2 separate regions of the Homo sapiens genome follow, and region 1 is linked to region 2. Evidence: promoter capture Hi-C in human tissues and cell types (Jung and others, 2019). All regions are on one chromosome and are shown on one strand. Each heading gives the region's core, a stretch centred on a gene start or on the middle of the fragment in contact. The rest is flanking DNA. Distances are from core to core; before and after follow the strand shown. Region 1 overlaps NALF1 (NALCN channel auxiliary factor 1). Region 2 holds the start of LIG4 (DNA ligase 4).

What was found. The method cuts DNA at HindIII sites, captures the fragments that hold promoters and counts their contacts. A contact is called where the count stands out against the background at its distance.
Region 1: a contact is called between a fragment that was not itself captured here and the fragment with the promoter of LIG4 in region 2, in 1 of the 25 tissues and cell types used here (dorsolateral prefrontal cortex).

Annotation. Positions count from the first base shown.
Region 1 is chr13:107,266,281-107,270,685 of GRCh38, reverse strand. The region is part of intron 1 of NALF1 (NALCN channel auxiliary factor 1); the gene reads left to right. Among named protein-coding and RNA genes, the nearest start is that of SNORD31B, 52 kb to the left of the region's middle. The HindIII fragment of the contact is 4,400 bases long and covers 1-4,060 here.
Region 2 is chr13:108,212,436-108,217,049 of GRCh38, reverse strand. LIG4 (DNA ligase 4) reads left to right here and starts at 1,514. Exons shown (of 3, transcript NM_206937.2): 1 at 1,514-1,566; 2 at 2,440-2,512. RefSeq lists a silencer at 1,312-1,451 and an enhancer at 1,295-1,589. The HindIII fragment of the contact is 8,794 bases long and covers 1-4,614 here.

The DNA of each region.
Region 1 (4,405 bases), core at 611-3,110, 950 kb after region 2:
AAGTATAATAATAATAAAAATATATATATATATAACTATCAACAAAGTTTCCAGTTTTCCTTATTTTTATCCTTGACTAAAACCTCACAGAAAATTAATGTAATCAAAATAATTTAGTTTTATATTTAAAGTTATACTTTAATATGAATTTCTATACTGAAAATCACACCTAACATCTTGAAATACCTTTAACTTAATCATTCGTTCACTCTTCTGCTAAATACATAATTTTTATTAACTTCATATTAGTACTTTACTAAGTCCAGGTGGTACATTTACCAAAATATATGCAATATTTTAATGTATTAAAATGTATAGTTTTTCCTATTTTGATCCCCACTTAAAAATTAACATAGTGTATAGTGCATGTATTGCCTTGATAAATGAGATTGCAGTAAAATTGGTCTTTAGGATTTGTTCTTGGAAACCATTAATAATTCAGTTCAAGGAATGATCAAAAGTTTGACATAGAAAATAAATTTTCAATATTCTGAAAAAAGCTTGATTATTCCTGGAATAGAAACTTTTACATTTTGATGGCCTCATATAGGTGGTCAGTTTCAAATAATCCTGCATCATTCACAATTGAAAGTGATGTTATAAGAAACATATTTCTGGCCAGGCGCGGTGGCTCACGCCTGTAATCCCAGCACTTTGGGAGGGCGAGGCGGGCGGATCACGAGGTCAGGAAATCGAGACCATCCTGGCTAACACGGAGAAACTCCGTCTCTACTAAAAATACAAAAAAAAAAAAAAAAAAAAAAAAAAAAAATTAGCCGGGCGTGGTGGTGGGCACCTGTAGTCCCAGCTACTCCAAGGCTGAGGCAGGAGAATGGCGTGAACCCGGGAGGCGGAGCTTGCAAAAAAAAAAAAGAAACATATTTCTTCCTTATATAATAAAACAGAATTGCTTGTAACATCACAAGTGTTCTCCACGTCTCCTCCCTCTCTGGAGGTCTCTGTCCTCTTGGAACTGTTGCCTGACATAGACCAACGATGATCATGACTTTACATCTTTGGGTGACTTGCTGTCATTACCTGTGTAGAGTACAATATAATGGGGAAAAAAGGACACTCTTAGTTGTTCTGTTCTAAATATGACTCTATAAACCATGGGTGATTTGCAACACAGAAATTCACATACAGAAATACAAATAAGTTCAAACCTTGATACAGGACCTATTTTAAAATACTATAAACATATTCATCTCCAAAGCCTTTCCACAATCAATCATACTATCTGATCCCTGGACCCCTGACTTTTTTTCAGGTGTTTCTGGTTATAGTAAATAACATTTACTATCCACTCTGCAAGATATAAATTTATCCAATCAATTACCAACTCCATGTCTTTTGCTTCTTAAAGACCTCCCAAATCTACCCATTTTCCTCCAGCCACATCACCATCATTTTGCTTAGTTCTCGTGAACCCCCCTGACTATTGCTGTAGCTACTAAAGTACTGTACTCCCACCCACAATTTCTCAATTTCTATTTTTTTAAATTCTTTTTTTTTTTTTAAACATAGACAGGGTCTCACTGTGTCTCCCGGGCTGGAGTGCAGTGTGTGATCATAGCTTACTGCAATCTGGACCTCTTGGGTTCAAACCATCCTCCCACCTCAGCCTCCCAAGGACGTGGGACCACAGGCGTGCACCACCACTCCCAGTTTATTCCTGATTTCGAATCCAATTTTCACTCTACACCCAGAGAGATAATAGAAAAACACTCATCTAATCACATTACTATCATCCTTAAAATAAACTACCCTCAGAGAAAAGCAAACAAAATACTTATTATGGTTTTAATGCCCTAAAAAATCTGGCCCTTCAGTTACTCTTGACTACCCTGTTGTTCTCCCTACATTTGGCAAATGAAACTTTTATTCGTGCCTCCAAACACACTGCTTCTTTTGACTGGAATACCGTCCCCTGGACCCTGACTTCTCTTAACCCTCCTAACTTCTAATTCTGGGTCTTAGCTTAAATATGACTTTTTAAAGAATATCATCTAATTCATCAGGATAAATTATTAGTCCCACTTTAATTGAGCTTTTTGTTGAAATAGTTGTAGATTTACATGTAGTTGTAACAATATACAGAGAGATATTACACATCCTTTACCCAGGTTCCTCCAACAGTATTATCTTGCAGAAATATAGTACAATTATCACAACCAGGATACTGACAGTGATACAATCCAAGAATCATATTCGTGTTTCTACTGATTTGTTTGTACTCCTCGAGTATGTGTGTGTGTGTGGGTGTTGTATACAATTTTATCACATAGGTAGCTTTGGGCACAGTAGTCCCCCCTCATCTGTGGTTTCACTTTCCATGAGTTCAGTTACCCTCCATCAACCATGGTCCCAAAATATTGAATCGAAAATTCCAGAAATAGGCTGGGTGCGGTGGCTCACACCTGTAATCCTGGCACTTTGGGAGGCCGAGGCGGCCAGAACATGAGGTCAAGAGATTGAGACCATCCTGGCCAACATGGTAAAACCCAGTCTCTACTAAAAATACAAAAATTAGCTGGGTGTGGTGGTGGTGCATGCCTGTGTTCCCAGTTACTTGGGAGGCGGAGGCAGGAGAATCCCTTGAACCTGGGAAGCGGAGGTTGCAGTGAGCCGAGATCGCGCCACTACTCTCCAGCCTGGTGACAGAGCAAGACTCCATCTCAAAAAAAAAAAAAAAAAAAAAAATTCCAGAAAAAAACAATTCATGTGTTTTAAATTGCTCATCATTCTGAGTAGTGTGATGAAATCTCACATCATCTGGCTCTGTCCTGCCCGAGACGTGAATCCTCCCTTTGTCCGGGCTGTCTATGCTACCAGCCTGTTAGTCGCTTAGTAGCCATCGCGGTTATCAGATCGACTGGTGTGGTGTTGCTGTCTTTGTGTTCAGGTAGTGCTTATTTTACTTAAGAATGGCCCAAAGCACAAGGGTGGAGTGAGGCTGGCATATTGTTATAATTGTTCTACTTTATTATTCATTATTGTTGTTAATCTTTTAAACTTCTTCGTAGGTATGTGTGTACAAGAAGAAAACAGTACATATAGGATTCAGTACCATCTGTGGTTTCAGGCATCCACTGGGGATCCTGGAATGCATCCTTCTCCAATGAGTGGAATACATTTTTTTTAGCATAGACAGGGTCTCTACTGTATATGTGTTTTAACATACACAGGGGACTACTGTATAGACCACCACAGACAACACACAGCGCTCTCGCTATAAAGATTCTTTATGTTGTTTTTTTTTATGGTCATGCCCACCTCCATCTCCTTCCCTCCACCTCCCTGGCAACCTTTCATGTTTCCAATCCCCTTTAGACTCTCTTTTATCAATTTGTACTTCTTACATCACTTTGCTTGACTGTACCTCTTTGGTCCAATTTTATGTGGTATCTACATTCTCACCTAGGCTGTAAGCTTTACATTAACTACTGTATTTCTAGGTTCTGTCATATTGTTAGGTCCAAATACGTGATCAGTGAGCATTTATTGACTGCTTGCTCTATTTTGAGGGAAAACAAAATGCACAAAGCATGGTGGAGGGGAGTCTTGGCCAAGAGCCAAGTGCTTATGGGGAAACTTGAATTGTATACCTGGCCCTACAGTGGAACACTTGACTTGTGGACCTCAGTTAACCCAGGTGTAAAACAAAACAGATGAGAACATGAAGTAACACTGGCTCGGTAAACATCCTGGTGTAGGAAGTTGGGTGGGTTGAGTTCTAGAGACACTACAAGCCAGGCTGTACTGTACATCCCATATCAGAAATGAAGGCATTGCCAGACAGCCCAGCCCATGCTACAGTCATGCATATCTCTGGGAAATACTCATGGTGAACCTAATCTGAAGAAAACTTTGCAGTATTATTGAGCAATAGACAGGAGTTGTGTTAATAATTTGCATAGGTGATTTTGTGCATACTTTTATTTCCTGTGGGTTTTTTTGACCCTAAAAATTGCATTGTGAGGTGCTGGGACTTTGGTCAACCTCTGTGGTGTGCTTTTCCCATAACACTGTACTTCTGTATTCATAGTTTAGATATATAAGTATTTATGTTTGTGTATCCATGTATGTGTGTGTTTATTTATCTACATACACACACGTAGTTATAGGGATCTAATTCTTCTACAGAATGAAGGCCAAAAACAAGAGGGTGGGAAACTTAAGAGTAGTGAGAAAATAACCTAAATAAGAAGAAATGATGCCAAAAAGGAAATGAATGTTTGCGTGACGGTGTGAAACCTTGTCAACAGTACAGGTAGCCATCTATTTTCCAGGTGGGGTGTACACAGAGCACTCAACCTGTGATGAACAACCTTATATCCTTTTGTAGAATAAAAATGTAATTTCATTAATTTTAAATGATAACATAATAGGGATAGGTCTTTAT
Region 2 (4,614 bases), core at 265-2,764:
GCTCCAGGTCAAAGCTGGGTTCTTGAATCATAGCTTCCTAATCTTGATCACGGAATAAGTGCCAAGCATATATAAAGTAGACCATTTACATAAATAAATTAATAATCATGGCAACTCTAGAAGATACTTAGTGAAAAAAACCCTTGATTGTCTTTGAACCAATCAACTAAAATAACATGATGAAATGGAGACTGGGCTTTGAATCAATTTGGAGTTTGCCTGGTTTCATAATTCATGGTTCTTCTCATGTAACTAATACAAAGTCCAGCTTCTGACATTGTAGGAGCTCAGTAGAGGTTGAACAAGCTACAAATGTACACGGATAGGTACCCTCTCCTAAGATGGGCAAGTGGAGGCTCCTCTACCTTAACACTATTCATTTTTCCTCCAAAATAAATTGATAACTAAATTGAAGAGCAGATACTCACAAAACAATATCATGAGACTTTACAACATCACAGATGATTTTAGATATTCAGGCATATTAGGTCAATTAGACATACGAAGTAAATAACTGAATGTTCTTGGGCTAGACGGAACCTCCGCTACAAACTAGCACTGAATGAAATGTGTCAGTTTTGAAAAAGGAGGTTTTTATACATTACACAACCTCTAAGGGCACTTAACAGCTCTAATATGTTTTATCAGGGCCCACTGCAGCAAAATTTATTTTATTGTAAAGCAATATTTTATGCTAAAATAAAATAGTTCTAAAAGTTGTTTCCACCCCTCTTTATGAATAACTTCTCACTTCTCCATGGCGAAAGAGGACTGACCACAGCAAAAATTCGGTGGAAACCAACAGCTCCTGGAACACAAAAACTGGGGTTGTTTATAATCTCTCCACCCTGAATATCTAGCACCATTACTATATAATAATAGGTGCTCAATAAAGGTTTGTTAAATAACTTTATTTTTAAACCTTAAACAGATACTAGAAGAGTCCATAGTTGATTTCTGGTCATGCAACGGTTTATTTCTATATTGTAAGTTATGTATTGTTATGTATTATTTCTGTATTAAGAGAACTGAGACCACAGTAGCAAACATCATTTAAAAAAAAAAACAGCTCTATATAGTTTGCAAAAGCCTATTTTTTAAAAGTTTAAATGAAACAACCAACGTTTTGAGTTGGGAGGATGTCCTGTTCTCTCTTGGGAGTTTTCACAACCAGCGAAATCAGTATAGTTACCACTGTTTTACGTACAGAGAACAAGAATTAGAGGCTATCACTAGCCAGAGCACAAAGTGATCTTAGGTCTCCCTCGAGACAAAATCCACTGGCGTGTGGATCAACTGCTTGCAGAGAGCATCTGCTGCCGAGGCCAATAGGAGCCGTGTGTACTCAAGACCCTAACCAGGATCCTGCAGGTCCCGCCTCCGCAGCCCCACGGGGCTGCCGGCCCCCCCACCTCCCATCGCGAGCCTGGCTGCGCCGGCGTGCTTGAGCCCGGTGACTGCAAGGCCCCGGGTCTCCCCTGCGCCTGCGCGGCGAGCAGCTGGCGGAACCGGCATCTTCTGGCGCCAGCTTCCGGCTTAGCGGCTGAGCTTCAGGCTTGACGTCAGGTGGGAAGGGTGTGGGGTGGCAGGTGGGGGCGGTTGGGAGGTTGGGGGGGGTTGGGGTGGGGGGGGTGGGGGGTGGCAGATTGACGGTGTGGGGGGAGTCAAGTGGAAGGTGTGGTCCAGCAGGCGGCGAGAAGTCTGTGGGGCAACAGACCGGGGGAAGGTCTGTGGGGCGTCAGGCGGGGTATCTGTGGGACGTCAGGTTGGGGTCTGTAGGGCGTCACGTTGGGGGTCTGTGGGGCGTCAGAGGGGGGAATCTGTGGGGCGGCAGGTGGGGGGTGTTCGGGGCGGGGTTTGGGGTGTGTGTGGCGGCAGGAGGCGGGGGAGGTCTGTGGGGCGTCAGGTTAGGGTCTGTGAGGTGTCAGGCGGGGTTTACGTGGGGTGGCAGGTGTGGGGTGTGTGGAGAGTCAAGTGGGGGGTGTGGGGCGTCAGATTGGGGGTCTGGGGGATCAGATGGGTGGTGTCTGGGACGTCAGGCGGGGGTCGGGGGGTCGTCAGGCGGGGGATGTGTGGGGAGTCAAGTAGGGGAAGTGGGGCGTCAGATTGGGGGTCTGGGGGATCCGGTCGTGGGGGTGTCTGGGACGTCAGGCGGGGGGCCTGAGGGGCGTCAGGTGGGGGGGTCTGGGAGGCGTCAGGCGGGGGTCGGTCTATGGGGGCAGCAAGCAGGGTGTTTGTGCAGCGGCAGGTGATGGGAGTTGCCGAGTCCACAGCGCTGTAGACTGCGCCGCATTAGAAGCCTGGCCTCCTGATGCTGTGCTCTTCATCTAGACCCAAGCCCCAGGTCGTGGGACGATTTCTCCCGTTTTTGACTCCCTGGAACTGTATTGCCTGCTTTACCTGCGTACATGTTGATTCTTTCTCATGGCAACCCCGCAGGAAACCATCAAGATCTCATTTTACAGCTGGGATTCTCTGGTTCACAGAGGTAACGGAGCTTGCCCGAGGCCAGGTATTCACTGGGAATCCGTGAAGGGTTGGGGGAGAGTAGGGGGAACGGGCAGAGGAATGATGTAGACTCCTTAGGGATTTTCCATTTTCCGAGAGGGTACAGGGGGCATTGGAGCGGGAGAGACTTTAGGCTTGGAGGGAATTACTTTATTTCTCTTCTTACACTTGGTCTTTCATTAACTTTTGGGATCCCAAAGCCCTTCTAGCGTCTTTGTCTGCTCATTTCTTTTTGCTGAGATTGTCCCAAATTGTCACTAAGTGCTGTGGAAGATAGGCAGCTGTAAACCCTTTGTTTCCTAGGGAAACACAGCTTGTCAAGGGTTGCATGAAGGATACTTCAGTTGCATTCGTCACTTACTCCTTTTTTTCCTCTCTCTTTTTTAAGTGCAATAGCATAGCACTTAATCACCTTCCATAGTCACTGAATAAAACCTGCCGGTTTATTTTCATGTGTCACTTCAGGACAATTTAGTCAGAACTGAATGAATGATGAATCGTTATTGTGTACTAATTGCTTGCATTCATTCTCCTGAAAGCTTTGCTTATTGTTAAAGAGTGAAGCTTCTTCCCACCTTTTTATCTCGTTAATATTTTGCAATATTTATATTTTAAATGTTGCTTGGATCAGCAAGCATTATAGTATTAAAATTATCAAGACTTACTACTTTTTAAAGCACATTTTGTAGATTATCTGATTTTTATCTTCATTCTAATTTCTACATAGTTTTTAACCCCATTTTATACTTTAGGAAACTGAAGCTTAGAGAAATTAAGTAATTGCCCAGTATCACACAGCTGTTAAATGTTACCATCCACATTTGAACTCAGATTTATTAGAGTCTAAAACCTGAGCCCTAACCAGGAACCTCCTCATTTGTCTTACTGCAAATGGAATGAATCAGCTAAAATCCTCAGAATCCAAAAAATAAAATTAGCATGTAAAAATGAATGGAAGTCCTAATCTTTGACTTTTTATGCCGTTGTAATGAGCAAAAATACTTACGACTAGTTTATGGCAATTTTGGAATCCTTGTTATAGGCGTAGCCATTTTAGGATACATGTGTATCCACACCATTACCTACATTTTGTCATTATAAAGTAATTTAAGTCCTTGCCTGGGATTTGTTGAGCGAAACTTTAACTTTGAGACCATGTAGAATCTATAGATATATCTGTAGAAACTATATACCAATATTTGAATATTAAAGAAATATTAGTTAACCTACTTTATTTTACATAGTTTATATAGAAATTGTAGATATAGCATTGTGTACCCTGTTTACTCCCTTGAGGGAGCAAATTTTGGGAGATAGGGCAGTGAACATACATAACCAGGTGTTACAGTCAGTTATGCAAACCAGATTCAGAGAGAGGAAACAACAGTATATTCAAAGATAAAAGTTTCAGGAAAGTGGTCTGTCATGCGTTTATCCCTCGATCTAACCCACTCAGTAGAAGCTGGGTTTCCTTTGTCAGAAATTAGACTGAGAAGTGCACCTTTTTTCTCTATAGGCCACCAAATGGCTGTTGTAAACCATTGCCAGGGCAGTCAGAGCTACTGAATATTTTTAACCAAACTGAATCTCACCCACTGTGTGTCTGCGTGCGTGTGTGAGTGTGTGGTATGTAACCAGACCATAGCTTTCCCTAGTGTGCTTATCCAGGAGTCAACTCTAGGTGTTCAGTAATTCATTCAGCAAACCTCCTACATGTCTGCCACTAGAGCACAAATTACAGCACAATTCCTGGCCTCTAGATACTGACAGTATAGTAAATGTAGTATTGTAATTAGCCATTTGATTTATTTTACTGGATACTAGATAATGTAGCCTTGTGCATGTGTGTGTTGCTCATTTGTTTGCGAATTGGAAGATGGGGAGTCACATATTTTCTGCACTGTAATAGATCTCCCCACTCCCAGCAAAACTTCTCCAACTCCACTGCCTGGGATACATGGTGGTGTGCCAGGAGGGGTCTGAAACCACAGGATAAAACATAGTTTCTATTCATGGACCATACATTTTACTTGAAATCTTTTTTTGGAAAAGTTATTTAACATTACATAGTTTAAACCATATTAAAATTACTCTAATATATTTATC